Linked DNA regions of Homo sapiens: regions 1 and 2 are each linked to region 3. The links are contacts of gene promoters, found by promoter capture Hi-C in blood cells and fetal thymus (Javierre and others, 2016). All regions are on one chromosome and are shown on one strand. The core of a region is centred on a gene start or on the middle of the fragment in contact, and the rest is flanking DNA. Distances in the headings are between cores, read along the strand shown.

Evidence for each region. Contacts are between HindIII fragments. The CHiCAGO score rates a contact against its expected background, and 5 or more counts as called.
Region 1: a contact is called between a fragment that was not itself captured here and the fragment with the promoter of GBE1 in region 3, in 2 of 17 cell types (M0 macrophages and monocytes). The highest score is 5.6, in M0 macrophages.
Region 2: a contact is called between a fragment that was not itself captured here and the fragment with the promoter of GBE1 in region 3, in 5 of 17 cell types (M0 macrophages, monocytes, M1 macrophages and 2 more). The highest score is 8.9, in M0 macrophages.

What each region holds. Positions count from the first base shown.
Region 1 is chr3:82,097,991-82,101,076 of GRCh38, reverse strand. All of the region lies in intron 1 of LINC02008 (long intergenic non-protein coding RNA 2008), which reads right to left. Among named protein-coding and RNA genes, the nearest start is that of LINC02008, 110 kb to the right of the region's middle. The HindIII fragment of the contact is 1,871 bases long and covers 843-2,713 here.
Region 2 is chr3:82,020,062-82,023,157 of GRCh38, reverse strand. All of the region lies in intron 1 of LINC02008 (long intergenic non-protein coding RNA 2008), which reads right to left. Among named protein-coding and RNA genes, the nearest start is that of LINC02008, 35 kb to the right of the region's middle. The HindIII fragment of the contact is 871 bases long and covers 885-1,755 here.
Region 3 is chr3:81,760,284-81,763,264 of GRCh38, reverse strand. It overlaps GBE1 (1,4-alpha-glucan branching enzyme 1), which reads left to right and starts at 1,620. Exons shown (of 16, transcript NM_000158.4): 1 at 1,620-1,890. The coding sequence starts at 1,748. RefSeq lists silencers at 1,392-1,491, 1,992-2,071 and enhancers at 1,147-1,755, 1,542-1,831, 2,172-2,341. The HindIII fragment of the contact is 5,689 bases long and covers 919-2,981 here.

The sequences.
Region 1 (3,086 bases), core at 529-3,028, 340 kb before region 3:
ATTTGGGGATACTGAGTTTGTGATGCTAAAAAGACAGTTGGAAATGCCCATCTGATAATTAGAAATATTAGTCCAGATATAAGGAGAAAAAGGAAATGCTGAAGTGTAGATTTAGGTAGTAGTCGATATAGAATGAGTGAGAGCCAGGAATAGATGAATGTAATGAAAAATGAAATAAAAAAGGAAAATTGAAGAAAATGCCTATTAAATAAAATAACAGATGAGGAACTAATGAGTAGGATACAGGTAGACACGAGCATGGACAAAAGCATCAGCAGTGACAGTGTAGCAGAGAGGTTAAACAGGAAACAAAATAAAGATAATTCATATATTTCAGGAAACATTTCTTTAATGAGAAAGATTTCAGTTGTGTGCTTCAGTCTGCAAGAGTAGGATTATGTCGTTAGTATACATCGAGGAAATAAAGCCATCAATTTAGGAACAAGTTCAGGCTAGCCTGCTGGAGCATGAAAAACCCTGTCCAGAGGAATTCCAGTCATCCCAGACATCCCAGACATCAGCCAAGCAGCTCCAGCCAACCCATGAACTGACAGGTCTGTGAGTTCAGCCATGATCAACCAAACATAGCTCATACCAGCGTGATACCCTAAATTCTAACCCCACAGAATTGTGAATTAAATATACTGATACCATTTTAAGCCATTAAGTTTTGGTTAGTTTTCTGTACAGCAAGATGTAACTAATGCGCCTTCCAATAAGTTGTTTTAATATATATTTTGCCCAATTTTCTAATTATTCTTGATGGGGATTTAGTCCTAGTTACCTAATCCTCTCTCAAGAGAAAATCTCTGAAAATCATTAATATATTAAAACGTTAAGCTTACAACCTTAAAACATCTTTGAATGAAATTTTTATTTTTATTTATTTATTATTTTTCATTTTTTTCTTTCTTTTTGAGACAGAGTCTCGCTCTGTCACTCAGGCTGGAGTGCAGTGGCATGAACTTGGCTCACTGCAACCTCCATCTCCCAGATTCAAGCGATTCTCCTGCTTCAGCCTCCCGAGTAGTTGGGATTACAGGTGTGCACCGCCACTCCTGGCTAATTTTTGTATTTTTAGTAGAGACAAGGGTTTCACTGGGTTGTCCAAGCTGGTCTCGAACTCCCGACCTCAAGTGATCTGCCTGCCTCAGCCTCCCAAACTGATGGGATTACAGGCATGAGCCACCAAGCCAAGCCAAATGGAATTTTTAAAAATTATTATGTATACAAATTTATGGGGTACATGAGTAATTTTGTTACATGTATATAATGCATAGTGATCAAGTCTGGGTATTTAGCGAGTCTATTACCTGAGTATAATATATTTTTGTTAAGTATAGTCATCCTATTCTGCTATCAAACATTGAATTTATTTCTTCTATCTAACTATATATATGTACTGTGAGGGATTTTTTTTAAAAGGTTAAAAAATAAAGTATATTACTAAGTGCAGAACATTAAAATTCACAACAAATTGCACTAATATCCATAAATTCTTAAATATTTATTACCTCTGCTATAACATCTTCCAAATCAGTAAATAAAAAACTTAAAAAATACATATTAAACATAATTATGCACACAAAGTACTAATTGTGTAATTTCCTTTTGAATTTTAGTCATTGCCAAATTGTTAGAAAATATTTTTTTCAGCTTTAAAAGGTTTAAATAGGAAAAAAAAAATCATCTAATAAGATAGGCACTACCAAAACCCACAATGGTTATATCACACCACAATAACCTAATAACCTAATGGCACATAGATCAATAAGCATTTAAAAATGACATACAAACACAAAAAGAGAACTTGTAATAAAAAATATCAAGCAAAATACTTTGATTGTAGGTTGTTGGAGATAGGTTTGATGGAAAATAGGTAGTTGTTTTTGACCTTGAGGACGGTTATAAAAGTAGCACGGCAGCACAAAATCAATCACAATAAACTGGAAAAAAAAGTTTGTAAATAAAACTAGTGAGAAATTGTTTGTTTGTTTTTTTCACTTTTTCCACAAGGAAATGCAATGATAAATGTCCAGAAAAGCAATAAAAATATTTCCTTTCTTTTAAACTAAGGAACATCTTTATGAAAAAGGATGTAGAAGATAATCTACCAGAAGAGAAAATAAGAATAAGCAAAGTTATGGAAACATAGCAAAATAATTATGCCTGATGATTGGTACCTGTTATTTTATGATGCCTCTTATAAAATACTTCAGTACTGCATTATTCAGTTTGACACACTAACAATCCTAGGCTTTAATAAAACAATGAGCAACAAAACCCAATCAGAATTAATGATATAGCTAGTTTGCCCACAGGAGGTAAAATATCAATCTATAATGCTGATTGACTTATTTCAACTTTGATAAAAAATGGCTAGTATAATTATAGACTAATATGTAAGTAATAAGTCTGGATCTCATCACCACTGGATAACAGAACTGTTATGGCTGTGAATCAGATTGTCTAATACAAGTTTTTGAACACCATATCAGAAGCAGAGTGATTTATTGACTACCCATATCATCTACAAGCTCTAATTTAAGTTGTAAGAACAACTGCTTCTGTTGTAATTAATTCTGGGCATGGAGTTAATCAGGCAATCATCTTTATTAGTTTACTACATGATTAATATGCTCTTGTTTGTTAGGATGGAAAAGAAATAGCATGCCTGATTTGGACAGGTCAGATATTATAGGTCTTTCAAGCTTTACAACAAACTAAAAGGTTTTGTTGTTTTGTTTTGTTTTACTTCAAAATCATGGGGGAAATATTTTTGAAAAGTTCATAAAAGGAAGAGAGACAATTCACAAAAAGGCACTTCAGATTTCCAGTTTAGTATAGTGAAGAAAGAACCTCCTCCCAAATTATATGATGAAAGGAAAGAATGATGATATTGGTGTGTAGATGAGGATGAATCTATTATAACTGAAATATCTGAAAACATACTCTTGCTCAAAGAGATAATTAGGGCTAAAATATAAAGGTGGGGTGGGGGAGGGGTAAAAGCACTATAATGAATTCTAATAGTTTTTCATGTTTGAAGGATGCCAACAAAGTAATCCTGAAAGGTGAATTCATCC
Region 2 (3,096 bases), core at 71-2,570, 260 kb before region 3:
CCTTGATAAATGTGTTATTATTGTGGCAATGGTAGAGGTGACGGTGGTGGTGTTTCCTTCCCTAGGATCAGTCATTTCCCCATGGCCTTAGGGGTCTTCCAGCCGAAAAGTTTAACAAACTCTGGCACACATAAGTATTAGTCACCTGTCAAACTAGTTTTCTAGCTTCTCTGTGGTCATACCTTAAAATTTCACACCTCTGATCTCCACCACTTAAGAAGCATTTTCTACCACCTCAGGCTTTGAAACCCTACGTATCCCTTCAGTTAGGTTTTCTTTCTTGGCATCTTCCCTAATTATACCATATTATATAATATTATAGGGGTAATATTATACTGTAAGAATATCATTCTTATTCTTATTTTTCAGATGAGAAAACTGAAAGTGACATAGATCGTATTTATTGCTCAAGGTCACCAACACAGAAGAAGCTAAAAAGTGGCTGAGTCAGCTTCAGCAGCTTCATATTCACTTTCCACAGTTACGCTTCCCTGTTGCCTCAGTCTCAGCTAGTCCACTACAGACCATCTTGGGTTGACACTATTTGTATCTATGGCTTATTTCCATTACTAAATTATGAGATCCCAGGATTTCAAAACTCTTCTTCTACTGGTTGTTATCTGAAACAAAAAGGCCAACCAGGAACTAGAGAAGACAAAAAACTGCTTTTCATCGGACCTTGATGAACTAAAGAAATACTAACATTCTCAAGGGAAAAACTACATGGAGAGATTTCAAGACTATAAAGATTCAGAGAATTGTCTTAACTTTCAGAAGCTATGCCAAAGAAATCTGAATCTTTGGCATGTCACTTTTGATGACACATGTCGACTTTCATAGGGTCATGAGATAAATAGTAACCTGAACCACTTGCTTCCAAAGCTTCTACTTCCTCTGAAGGCTGACATGGTGTGTCTTATGAAGTCACAAGTCCCGTTATACCTGCAGCAATCAATACTGCAATTAAAGGGAACTAGTACCTGAAGGAATTGATCAAACAAGTCCAAACCTATCATCCTCTCCAGTCACTATACATTTGAAACAATAAAATTACACAGTAAATATACTGCACACACACACAAAAATTCCTAAGAGGATTGGGTCATAAAGATACAAATCAAAAAATAAATAAGGCTTTATACAAATTTTAAAATGTTAAAGTAGCAATTTGTAGAGGTAAAAAAATTAAACATTACTCCCAGTTAACAATGTCCACTCCTTTCAGATTTTACTCATTCAGTAGATTCAACACAGAAGTCACACTATGCTTCACACTTTTACATTTTTGTCAATAAGATTAAGATATCAATGGCAAGCTAACATAAGATCAGCATTTCTAGCTGAATGAGAGAAGGTCCTTGATTCGCCTGTACAAATTCAATAGCAACTCATTAGCTCTAACTATGACTTATTACTTTGTTTCTTAGAGGATAATGTCTCAATATTTTGCCTTGTTAAATAAGGCAAATGATTTTATGTAACCTTAGATTTGAAGTTAATCTTAAATATGGTTGCAGAAAGAGCTTGAGGGGGCACTCCAAAGGAATCCCAGAATTTGAGGACAAAGTCAGATAAAGGTTACCCTCTGAAAATGAAAGTTTAAAAATCATAACATTTCAATATCAGGTGTAATTAAAATATATTGAGCACATACCATGTTACATACATGTGTCCTCATATTGATTCTCTCATTCATGAATTCTACTATTATTTAGTGAGCTATGTTAGATACAAGTGACAGAAACAACTCAAGCTTGCTTAAACAAAAAAAGGGATTTAAAGAAATGTGGGAGAGAGGTCCTATGGTACCTAAATAGGTTTGCAGATGGACCTCAGAAATTACCTAGAATAAAGGAAATGTAAACTATTAAAAGTTTTTTTTTCTTTTCTCAATGTTGTTTCTTTTTGCATAGCTTCATTATTCTTCTGTCAGATTCTTTATCTGTTTGGAATGTTAGGGCCACAACATAGCTTCAGATTTCACATGGTAAATGTTATGCATAAGCAAAGGGTCACTTCTGTCTCATTCCCAACTCCAAAATCCCAATGAAAGGAGAACCTAGTTGGAGCCTGTTGTGCCAGGTGTCTAATTCAACTTAATCACCAATGCCTGGGAGGCAACATTATAAGACTACCATGAATTACTTCTGGTGAAGAGGAGCAAAACCATTATAAATTTGAAAAATAACCCAATCTATATTAATGCATGTGGCCATCTATAGCAGTAATTTCTCCAAACAATCAGTGCATTGTACTTAATTCAATCAAGGAGATCAAACACACCTCAGTTTCCTGGAAAATTATAAACCACTCTGCTCTTTTGTAGTGTATCTGAAGTGATATCCTTATTTTATGTCAGAAAAGCCATGATCTTGCATGGAGCATAAAAAAAAGATAGCTTATACATTAAAAATGAGTCAATGCTAACCAGCATTGTCTAAGAGCAAATGGCTGTCAGGAATATTCAAGTAACTAAACAGATGTGTATTATATAGATAAATCTCCTGCATTTCCTCCATCCTGGGTGAAATATTTCTCAATACCATTCAACTATCTTTACACTATTTTCACCCTTACTAGTCATTTAACTTACTAGTTCAGTTTTCCTGGTAGTGTTAATAAGAAACATTTTGACCTGCACAGTAGACATTAGGTTTCTTACTATGACTGGAATATAATCCCTACTGTAAACAAATCTCCATCCGACTTACAAATGAGTAATACATGATTAGTTACCATGAGCCAGTGCCTTAAAACTGAACGCCCCTGCATGAACCAATTTTTAAAGCATTGATCCTTTCATGTAAAAGTATATGTTCAATCACAGAAAAAGGAAAACGCAGTCTCAAGTTCAAAGAAATGCCTCTCATCTAGTTAATCCAGGCAGATCACAATGATTTAACATTTATTGAAGGTGTAAAAAAATCAGTTTCTTGCAATGACAAATTCACACACAAAAAAATGATTTTAATGGCTTATTTAATATATCATATTTCAACAGGTGACTGAGTCTAATGTTTATTGACAAGGTATCTAAGTAAAACTTCTCATAACAAGAAAGTTCATACAAATAACGCACCAAGTATGTGTTACAAT
Region 3 (2,981 bases), core at 371-2,870:
ATCGGAACTCAATTAAGATCCCTAGGTGATTCATATGCACATTAAAGTGTGAGAAACACTGGTACAGAGAATGGAGTAGAGGTGAGAAAGAGTAGAAGAGGGGAAGTCAGTTAGAGAGCTACATTCTGGTCCAAGTGAAGGAAAACAGTGGCCTGCATAAGAGTGACAGCAGGAAGGATGAGAAGACGGATTCTAGGTCACGTTTTGCAGACAGTTTGTTTAGGTCTCCTAGCCAGCTAAATGGAAATCTCAGTAGACAGGCAGTGATACAAGCCTGGGTTTCTGAAAAAAGTTTAGGCTTGGAGATGTAGATCTGTGGGTCTGTTATTAATAGTTGTCCTGCTTCGGGTTTTTATTTTTTTTTAATTTTCTTCCTTTTTTAGTGCTTTATATTTTACAAATGTCTGCAGCAGTTTTTTGTCATCTTTATGGAAAACAAGGCACGTCTTAAAGTCGTTCAAGTCCTTCACTTTTTCACACTGAGGTCTGTCTTCATATCCACTTATCTTTCAAGTCTATGAAACCCCTTATAAAAACTTTCCTTTGAAATATTTTAAAATTCAAGGCCCACGGCTGATTAATACTGTTTCTCCTCCATAACCCCTAGGATCCTCCAGTTCTGGGTTTTAACAAGAAAAATATCCTCAATCCTCTCTAGTTTCTAGGTGTAAAGCAGCTTGGACCCTCCTGGGTTTGGTGGGTCCATCTCTCTTGGAGTCCAACTCTGTATTCCTAAAAAGCAATTATTGAAATAGAAGCTAGTCAGTTAATGGCAATAAAAGAAGGGAATTCCAAGTGGGAGCTTCCCAAGCCAAGAGGAAGAGAGGTTTCTTGCCTTATCACTGTAAGTGGCAGAGTGGAGTTCCAATTCAATGATATCATTTGTGTTATCAAAGGTAGTTTAATCGTTGAAAAGCTTGTTAACAATTATAAACACAGGCAAATGCCTTTTCCTTTTTGGCCTTACGGAGAATGAGAAAAGTTCTTCCCATGGCTAAAATTCTTAGCTGTTGGTAATGCAGAAAAGAGTACCAGAACAGCAGAATTCCAACGGTATTCCAGGATTCTGTGTCTTGGTTAATTTTAAATTCACGTGACCTGGCAAACTTAGGAGAGTCCTGGTTGTAAGAGGTATTAACATTTTCAGCAGTAGTACTCTAGCTACACTTGACTGTTCCCCTCTCTGTGAATTTACATGATATGTTTGAAATACTGCCCCTCAAAAGTCTCAGAACTTTGAGAAATACGGTCCTTTCCAAAAAAACCCCTTATGTCCAATTTGAAGGGGTCGCTGTCAGTGGGTGCTTAAGTGGGTAAAGAAAAGCCAAGAATATGTCAGGGTGAGGAAGGCCAAGGCTGAGCGAGGTCAGCTTGGGACCCACCTCCTAGAATGACCTCCGCCAGCAGGAAAAAACCGTTAAGGGGAGGAAAGGGCAGGTCCCTGCGGCCTCCAGGTGCCAGCCGCGTGAGTGGGCGGAGAGGCCTCGGTGCCTCCTACCCGCTCCGGACGTGCGTCCCGGCATCACCCCGGGATCCGCTCCTCCCCGCTGGCGGGGGGAGAAAGGGCAGGAGGCCTTCCGTCCCGGCTATAAAGGGCCCCGGACCGCCGCGGCTCGCCTCGGCTTGCCTCGACACGCCTAGGCGCCCTCCGGCTCCGCCCTAGCCGCCGCGTCCCAGCTAGAGCTCCAGCGCCCGCTCAGGCCCCACTCGACCTCTCGGGCCTCGGCTACTTGGACTGCGGCGGAATATGGCGGCTCCGATGACTCCCGCGGCTCGGCCCGAGGACTACGAGGCGGCGCTCAATGCCGCCCTGGCTGACGTGCCCGAACTGGCCAGACTCCTGGAGATCGACCCGTACTTGAAGCCCTACGCCGTGGACTTCCAGCGCAGGTACCGCCGGAATCCCACCACCCCCACTTAGACAGGCAGCCCGCCTCCCAGGAGCCGTCTCGGGACACGGGCCGCCCCTCGGCCCTCGCGCGCCAACCCCGCCCCAGGCGGGGAGGAACCTGAGTGGGCGGGGCTCGGGGTGACTCGGGTAACCGGGTTCTGTGGCTTCCGTAGTGGCAGGTTTGACAGCGCTGGTGCCCGGAGCGGGCGCTGAAGAAACTTCTTTCCTCATCCCCTTTCCCCTCTGTTCTAATCAGCGGTCTTGCGCCATAGGGTACGTGCTGTGGCTCCAACACTTATTCCCCAGAGTGCTGCTGGGGAGTGACTCACCGCCGCTGCAGGTTTTCTGACTTTGGCACCCACTAGCGTGGGCCTGTGGAGTAACGTGGGCATAACTCCTGGCACGTGTAATTACGCATTTAAAACTTTCTAGTTTATTTCATAGCAAATGTTGTGATTTTATATCTAAGAGGATTCCTTCAGGCAGACACTATATCCTTTTGTTTTTTCCTTGCTAATATTCCTCATTTAGGGGAAGATTACACCTACATTGATCAATTTTTTCTCCCCTTGGATCAACATTGAGAAGTTAAATGTACATCAACATTTGTCCGTGTGTGACTTTAACCATCTTGAAGAGGGAGAAAGGTCAGGAAAGCAACTTTTACAGGCCAATGTCGTTTTAGCTTGTCTTCTACCATTGTGTACCATACAACTTTAGTTACTGGGCTAATAATTCTATTCATAAGTTCCACTAAAAAGGTACAGGTCTTTTTCTGTTGTCGTTGTTGTTTGAAGTAAAAGAGCTATTATACAAGTTGTAATAGTTATACTTGTGAGGTTACCCCATTTTGATTTAATAGTTTCTCCCCTTTTAGGAGAGACACTGCAGAATGGAAACTATCCTGGCAACAGAATATACATGGCCAATTTTTCGAGTGATGGAAAACATCCAACTAGTTAACTGGCATGAAGGAGCGTTGAGAGTAATGAAAATGGGTTGATTTGGAGTTTGAAAAAAGCCCAGCAAATTGTTTGTGTCCTAGCATTTTCAGGTATTAAATGCATTCAAATCAGCAAGTGTTTATTGA